Linked DNA regions of Homo sapiens: all the other regions are linked to region 2. Evidence: promoter capture Hi-C in human tissues and cell types (Jung and others, 2019). All regions are on one chromosome and are shown on one strand. Each heading gives the region's core, a stretch centred on a gene start or on the middle of the fragment in contact. The rest is flanking DNA. Distances are from core to core; before and after follow the strand shown.

Region 1 (2,700 bases), core at 83-2,582, 680 kb after region 2:
GCAGGCAGGACTAGGACCATGGGCCACTTGTGTGAGCCCCAGACAGGCCTGAGAGCCCTGCAGCATTGACTGGAAGGTGCGGGTGTGTGGATTTGGCGTGGTCATTTATTCATTCAACAAACTCAGGGTGAGCACCTTTTTTGTGTGGGGCTCAGTGCTTGAGGCTGGGGACCCAGGGGCATCAGACAGCACAGCCCTTGTGTGGGACAAGGGGTTCTGGGGAGTAGGCTGGGGTCAGGGAGGCCTGGAGAAGTGCAGCTCAGCCGAATCCTCCAGGAACAGGCACGGAGATTGAAGGGTGAGATTACACAGAAACTTCTGTGCCTCCTTGAGGGACTTGGACTTTCTCCTGAGGGCAGCGGTTCCAAGCTGGGAGGGGCAGCATCAGATGTGGCTTTCGCTTGGCTCATGGGGGCCGGGTTGGGGGCCCATTGAGGAAGCTGCTGCCATTCCGGTGAGCGGTAGGCTTGGGGTTGGGAGATTTGGGAAGTGCGGGCAGTGGGACTGACTGCCTTGGTGGTGTGGGGAGGGGCCCAGAAGGGGGCAGGTGGGTGGGGAGGGGCCCAGATTTGGGAAGTGCGGGCAGTGGGACGGACAAGCCTTGGTGATGGGTGGGGAGGGGCCCAGAAGGGGGAGTGTTGGGAACGTCATCGGAGCGTCAGTCCCTTGGTGCCAGGCTTGAGTCACAGGTTACTAGCTCAGGTTGTTGGGACAGCGATTTGAGTTTCACCTCGTTTGCCACAGAGGGTCTCAGGCCAGAAAGCCAGGCCTGGTGTGACCCAAAGCCCATGCCCACTGCCCTCCTTGCTGCCCAGCCCAGATCATTCCTGCCAGGTCTGCACCTCGCTGTCCCTCACTCCGTCTGGCACTGGGCCACCTGAGCATGCAAGTGTGCCCACCACCTGCTGCCCTGTACACATGGGTAGGTGCCGGGGGAACAGCATCCGCTCCCCACTGCCTAGGACTCTTGGACCAGACCTCCACCTGCCACCTGGTGCATGAGAGCCTCTGCCAGCCAACAACCCCTCCACTGCCACCCGGGGCACAATGCCTGGGACAAAGTCCCCAATGCTAGAGAAGACCCCAAAGGATGGGGAAGGGCGGGGAGCACCCTCCCTTCCATTTCCCCGTACCCCCGCTCCGCTCAGCCCGCCAGGCTGGAGATAGAGCTGAGGCTGTGTACTGAAGTGGCCCTTTGTACGTTGTCACCAGAGGATGGCGAGCCTGGGCGGGAGGGGCTGGCACTGCCGGGGCTGCAGGGCAGGGCGGCGCTGAACTCAGCAGAGCAGGGGCTTTCTCTGGGGCCACAGGGCAGGGGAGGAGCGCCTGTCAGGTGTGGGAACTTGCAGGCTGGGCCTGCACCCCCAAACCGGAGGATATTTGTCCCTCCAAGTCTGTTGCTGCTTCTCATCTGGGCTCCTGTGTCTTTGGACTGTTCCATGTCATCCAGCAGCTGTCCCTGCAGTGCATGCTCCAGGGCTGACTTTGTCCTGGGGGGTGGGGAACAGTGGCGACCGAGGCCTGTGGTGACCCTGCTCTCCTGTGGCCTCGCCAGCAGGGTGAGGGCGGGGCAGACGTAAACAACAAAGTGGGATCGCCTCTGCAGGGATGAGCGCTGGGGGGACAGCCTGGAGAGAGGGCTTGCGGGCGGGGGCAGCACTTCAGCCAGCTGCTCAGGGGCCCCTGTCTGACGAGTGGCATCAGAGCATGCAGGGACCTGAGGAAGGGCGTTCCAGGCGGAGGGATCAGCCAGTGCGAGGACCCTGGAATGGGGCCATGCCTGAAGAGTGTAGGAGACAGGAAGGTGGGGAGTGTGGCTGGAGCCTGGGGGACAAGGGAGGCAAGGTCAGCAGAAACGCAGGCATCAGATGGCCAGGGTCCATGGCACGCAGAGGAGTTGGGGTTTTAATTCTTAGTGTGACAGGGCCATGGGAGGGCTTGAGCAGGGAGATGTGGCCTGATGGGGAATTTGCGGTGACTCTGGCTGCTGCAGAGGCAGGAGGGAAGCTAGTGAGGACCTCGGGGTGGCAGAGGAGGCAGAGAGAGGTCCATCCTGGGAGCATTTGGGGGAACGGGGCCTGCAGGCTTTCCTGCCCCTCTGCCGGGCATGTGGTGAGGCCGCACCCAGCTCAGAGGACTGGCCTGTGTCAAGACTCTGGATGTTATCCGTTTTAATCCCCTCGGGGTTGGGATGGCCTCACATTGCTGATAGAGGCACCGAGGCCCAGGGTATTCAGTGACCTGCCCAAGATCACGGAGGAGGGTTTGGAAAGGGCAGGATTTGAATCCAGCCCCTTTTGAGTCTAGACTCCAGAGAGCTATGGCCCCAAAGCAGCCCTCGCCCCACGCTGACTCCTGAGAGATTGGGGGTGGGCACCCAGGACAGCCCAGGGTCCAGGAGAGCCCTCTCACAGAGGCAGAAGCACTCAGCCCAGCCCCCTCCTGCCCGGCTTTTCCTGGGCCTCCTTTGTTATCTGACGATGGCCACCCCCACTCAGACCAAAGGCTCTGGCTGCCCCTCTGCCTGGGAGGCACCACATCTCTGGGAGCCCTGGGGGTGGGGGCAGGGGCATTCTGACCTTGGAAGCCAGGGCAGGGCAGAGCTGGCTCCTTCCCTTCTCTTGTCCAGATGGTCTGGGGCAGTTTGTTCGGGCCTGTAAGGCTGAGTGGGCTGGGAGGTGGGTAGGGAGCTGAAAGCCC
Region 2 (2,700 bases), core at 30-2,529:
ATAAAAGTGTAGGATAGTAAACACATAAACAAGTAACAGTCATTTATTACCATTATCAAGTATGATGTCCTGTACACAATTGTATGTGCTATATTTTATATGACTGGCAGCACTGTAGGTTTGCTTACACCAGCATCACCACACACGTGAGTCATGCATTTTGCTTTGACATTACGATAGCTATGTAACTAGGTGATAGAAATTTGTCAGCTCCATTATAACCTTAGGGCACCACCGTGGTATCTGTGGTCTTTCTTGACCAAAACGTTGTTATATGGTACATGACTGTATTTCAATCTCCATCTGTCCCCTCCCCACCCCTAAGTAACCCTAACCATGGAAGCCCAGGAGGAAGATCAGAGAGGGTCAACTGGAGAAATGACAGTTCATGCTGACCGGGTTGATAACATTTCCCAGAGAGGGAAAATGTGGTGAAGAGACAAAGGAAAGAAACTAACAAATACTGAATCTATACTGGACTGGACTCTGTACTTCATATTAGCCTCAGAATTACCAAAGGAGATGCACCGACGTATACTGATTTTACATATGCACTGATTAAAAGCGCAGGGAGGGTAGGTCTTGAGACTGGGAATCCAAATTAGGTTTGCCAAGTTATTTTCACAATACACGATACCTCCCATTGGGGAGCACATCCTCTCGGAAGCCTAAAGTTGGGTCAAAGAACAACGACATCCTAGAACGTCAGAGTGGAAGAGGCCTTAGAGATCACTCAACTCAACTTCTCATTTACAGATGGGGAAACTGAGGCCCAAACAGGGGAAATGACCAGCCCAGAATCCCAGTAAGTCGCCAACTCTCCAAGCCAAGAGCGGTCTGACCTAGTTGATGGCGACCCCGCGGGAGAGGGAATTACTCCGCGAAAGGTCGAGGGATCAAGGTGCTGGGGGAAGTCGGCTAAAGGGGGACGCGGGACCACGAAGCTGGGCAGGCCTTGGGTGGGTGGGGAAGAGCAGCCGGCAGAGTCGCGATGGCAAACCTGTCACGACAGAGCTCGCAGGTCCCGAAGTGGGGGTGAGGGTGGGGGTTGAGGATGGGAAGACCTGGGGCAGGGGAACAGCAGGCAGGAGACCGAGGTGGGGCCTCGGCGGCGGGCGAGGCCTCTTCCGCCCTGCGTTGCCTCCCGCCCTCCCTCCGGGCCGGCCCTCCCCGCCTGGCTGCCCGCCGCGCCCCGGGGCCTCACCTGCTCCTGCGGGGGCCGGAGCCGGGGCCGCAGCCAGCGAACCCCCGCCAGGGTTGTCAAGGAGCGAAACAAGAGTGTCTTAGCAACCAGCAAGGAAGTCCTGCCCCCTCACCGGACGTTGACGAGAATTTCACTTATTATTGGTGGATAAAAGTATCAATCAGAGTGAAAGGCCCTTATAAGTCAGGCGTTTGCAAGGACAGGGGCGTGGTTTAGAGGCCAGGGAGGCGGGACTTCACTTATAGTTGTCTTAAGCGTGCCCGAGGAGCAGGGGACACATTGAAGTTCTTTTTCTAGGGAAACAAACTTCGAAAAGCAGTACTGCCTTGGGAGGTTCTTTTAGTCACTTGAAATAACAAATGCAACTTGTTGGTGTCGTGACACTTAGCCACTACTTTATTGGGATCTGAAAAGCCTGATAATAACTAGCATTTTTGTAGGGCTGTACAATTAATATCTCACTTGATTCTCATTACAGTACTTTTAGGTGATAATATTCGTCATCCCATCTGAACTAAAGTTCAGAGAGGTTAAGTAACTTGGTAAAGGATGGAGGTAATCTCCCTGGAGAAGGAACCCAGGGGCTCCTTCCTCTGTGCCACACCCTTGTATGGTCACCTAGCTCTAGTCACTAGGAGACATTTGTACCACCTAATTTCAGACACAGTTGCCCAGAGCCTGCCTTTTCTTCCCCTTGGGAGGGAAAATTAATCCGAAAGTACGGAGAAGGAAAAGGGGAAAGGGGAAGAACTGGCGGATTCTATTATTTGATTGGTAGATCAAAGGGTCAGTTGGGTACTTCGTAGTTTAAACCTTTATTATTGTGATGAGTACTTGGGGTGAAACCCCACTGCCACATTTACTAGCATTGAAGCTGTCTTTGCCAAAATTATAACTGAGGAAATTATGACAGTGAAAGAGATCAGACCTAACCCACTCCATCTTGCCTTTCTAGCCTTTAAGCTGTCTTTGTTCATTCCTAGGCATAGGCTGAACGAACCTTGGGAAGGAATTTAGTTTATAGTTTTACTCTGAAACAAAATTGACAATAGCCCTTTCCCAAAAAGGCTCCCTTCCTGCCTTGGGACCAGTCTGCCTTTGTAGGACTAACAAATTAGCTACAACATTAGAAATTATGGTTTAGGGGTCACACAGCAGCCTCTGGCTGCAAGAGTCTGAACCTTCCCAAATTGCTCCTGGGGATAACATCACTATTGTAAAACCTAAGATCAGCGCTTGAGATATTTTGCAGACCCTGCGCTCGATGGATCAGCTGACACCACCCAGACCAGTAATGTGGCTCAAACAGTTCTGTGATCCCACCCAGGAACAGAAGACAGCAAGAAAACCTCACTTCGACCCCCTCAGTATTCCATCTTCGACTTAATCAATCAACACTCCTCGCTTGCCAAGCCCCTACCCACAAAATTATCTTTAAAACCTCTGATCCCTGAATGCTTGGGTAGCATATTCAACTGCCTCCTAGCCATGTGCAC
Region 3 (2,700 bases), core at 5-2,504, 560 kb after region 2:
ACAATGGTGCCATCTCGGCTCATTGCAACCTCCGCCTCCCAGGTTCAAGCAACTCTACTGCCTCGGCCTCCCAAGTAGCTGGGACTACAGGCACACACCACCACGCCCAGCTAATTTTTGTATTTTTAGTAGAGATGGGGTTTCACCATGTTAGCCAGGCTGGTCTCGAACTCCTGACCTCAGGTGATCCACCTGCCTTGGCCTCCCAACGTGCTGGGATTACAGGCGTGAGCCACCGCACCCGGCCTGGACCTGGGATTTTTGTAAAATTTGTAAAAGAAAGATTTTTTTTTCTGTTGCTTTTCCAAAAGAGGGCCCCCAAATCATGTAAGCTTCAGGGCCTCACCAACCTGGACCCACCCTGGAACCCAAGCCCTCTGAGCCCCTGGGTCAGCCTGCACAGAAGCAGGGCCTCCAAGACCTGGCTTGTCTCTTTTTTATTTTTTTAGAGACAGGATCTTGCTGTGTTGCCCAGGCTGGTCTCAGACTCCTGGACTCAAGTGATCCTCCCACCTCAGCCTTGTGAGCAGCTGGGACGATGAGGCGAGGCGTGGGCCACTGCATCCGGCATGGCTTGTCTCTTGACTAAGGCTTTCTCACCTCTTGGTGTCATCGCCCCAGTGGCAGATCAGCTGCCACTCCTGGCACCCCCAGGCCACAGCTGTGACCTTCAGTAAGTGTCCCCTCCCCACCCTCTGTGCCTCAGTCTTCCCACCCGAACTGGGCTGGGCTGGGTCAGAAGTGCCTGATCTGTTGCGCGGTGACTGCCGCCTGTCAGTGACTCATTTCTTTGTTCTAAAGCCAGATGGGAAAAAAAGGAGTTACAGCAAGAAGCTAAACTGATTTAATAGAAAGGACCACCTTTTATTTGGAGTTTATATTCTTTTTTGCAGGGGGCTAAGATGGACTATAGGGAATGAATATCAGTGCTGGCAGATGAGTTTTTTGTTTGTTTGTTTTTTGTTTTTGAGATGGAGTCTCGCTCTGTCTCCAGGCTAGAGTGCAGTGGCGCGATCTTGGCTCACTGCAACCTCTGCCTCCTGGTTTCAAGTGATTCTCCTGCCTCAGCCTCCCAAATAGCTGGGATTACAGGCACCCACCACCATGCCCAGCTACTTTTTAAATTTTTAGTAGAGACGGGGTTTCACCATCTTGGCCAGGCTGGTCTCAAACTCCTGACCTAGTGATCCACCCGCCTCAGCCTCCCAAAGTGCTGGGATTACAGGTGTGAGCCACCGTGCCCAGTCAATGTTTCTTTAATTCTCTACTTTGACAAAATGAAAATGATAAAATGTTTGAAATGTTGCCATTTTCAGGGTTCATTTTTTAAGGGCTTTGGCCATAATACCACATGGTTCTGTAAGTGGGGTGGGTATCTTCCCCCCGTTTTACAAATGACAGAATTAAGGCTCAGCCTGGAGAAGTGACTTGTGCTAGCTCAAGGCCTGGGCTTGTCAGAGACTTGGTTTGAACCCGGACTGCTGGGCTCCACATTCTGTGTACTCCCTGTGGGTTCTCTGCCTGGATATCCATGGCACCAAGGGGTGGCCTGAGGGGGGCAGCTTCATACCCCTGGTTTTATTCACCCCCTCCACTCCACCCCCCATCATCCCAAGTGAACACTGAATAAAAAAGCTGAACTTGGCCAGGTGAGGTGGCTCACGCCTATAATCCCAGCACTTTGGGAGGCCAAGGCGGGTGGATCACTTGAGGTCAGGAGTTCGAGACCATCCTGGCCAACATGGTGAAACCCCATCTCTACTAAAATACAAAAATTAGCTGAGCGTGGTGGCGGTCGCCTGTTATCCCAGCTACTCAGGAGGCTGAGGCAGGAGAATCGCTTGAACCCGGGAGGCGGAGGTTGCAGTTAGCTGAGATCACACCACTGCACTCCAGCCTGGGCAACAAAAGCAAAACTCTGTCTCAAATAAAAAAAAAAAAAAGCTGAACGTTTTTTGTAAACACAGCAGTTTCAAGATAAGACCCCTTGCCTCCCCCAACCAACTTGCCATGTGCCAGCCATGGGGCCACAGGAAAATTCTGGGACCAGCGGTTGTTGGGGAAGAGGGTCCAGGGTAGAGACAGAACCTCTGGCCAGTTCTGATGTTCATTTGTTCATTCCACAAGTCCCCTGCTCAGTGCCAGCTGAGTGCTCAGTGCCACCCCAAGGCACTCTCGCTCCAATAACGAGAACAGGATTGAGTGGGAAGCACTGTCCCAGAGGCTCGGGTCACTACAAGAAGGAATTCCCAAGGGGTGGCCCAGGAGAGGCTTGGATGACAGACTCACAAGCTGGACTTCCTCTGAGGGCAGTGGGAAGCTGGAGAGAGGGTCAAGGGTATTTCGGAAGCTCCTGTGGAAGCTTGGTTTGGAGAGGGCTCTGTGGCTGGAAATGCGTGGTCACGTCCAGCCTGTCCTCTCCCAGTACCGGGCACAGCCCTGTCACCTAGACAGGAAGGTGGGCCCACGGCCCTTGTTTGTTATTTATTGCTGACCACCCTGGAGTCTTTCTCACCTCTTCACCTCCTGTGGCCGGCCGCTCCGCCGCTTCTTCTCTCTCAGGTCTAGGACAGGGTCAGCTGCAAGGAGACCGCTGGGAGGTGATAGATTTCTGCTGTGTTTTGGGCACTTCCTCATGTCCAGGGACAGCCCAGGGGCGGCCTCAAGAGCCTGAGAAAGCCTAGGGCATCAGGAGCAGGG

Evidence for each region. The method cuts DNA at HindIII sites, captures the fragments that hold promoters and counts their contacts. A contact is called where the count stands out against the background at its distance.
Region 1: a fragment that was not itself captured here is called in contact with the fragment with the promoter of DNAL4 in region 2 in 1 of the 25 tissues and cell types used here (mesenchymal stem cells).
Region 3: a fragment that was not itself captured here is called in contact with the fragment with the promoter of DNAL4 in region 2 in 4 of the 25 tissues and cell types used here (dorsolateral prefrontal cortex, lymphoblastoid cells, mesenchymal stem cells and 1 more).

What each region holds. Positions count from the first base shown.
Region 1 is chr22:39,468,595-39,471,294 of GRCh38, forward strand. The region is part of intron 1 of MGAT3 (beta-1,4-mannosyl-glycoprotein 4-beta-N-acetylglucosaminyltransferase); the gene reads left to right. Among named protein-coding and RNA genes, the nearest start is that of MGAT3-AS1, 6.9 kb to the right of the region's middle. RefSeq lists an enhancer at 1,564-2,493. The HindIII fragment of the contact is 6,749 bases long and covers 1-2,700 here.
Region 2 is chr22:38,792,864-38,795,563 of GRCh38, forward strand. DNAL4 (dynein axonemal light chain 4) reads right to left here and starts at 1,280. Exons shown (of 4, transcript NM_005740.3): 1 at 1,205-1,280. RefSeq lists a silencer at 1,022-1,471. The HindIII fragment of the contact is 13,707 bases long and covers 1-2,700 here.
Region 3 is chr22:39,352,915-39,355,614 of GRCh38, forward strand. The region is part of intron 1 of SYNGR1 (synaptogyrin 1); the gene reads left to right. Among named protein-coding and RNA genes, the nearest start is that of SYNGR1, 4.3 kb to the left of the region's middle. The HindIII fragment of the contact is 5,350 bases long and covers 1-2,700 here.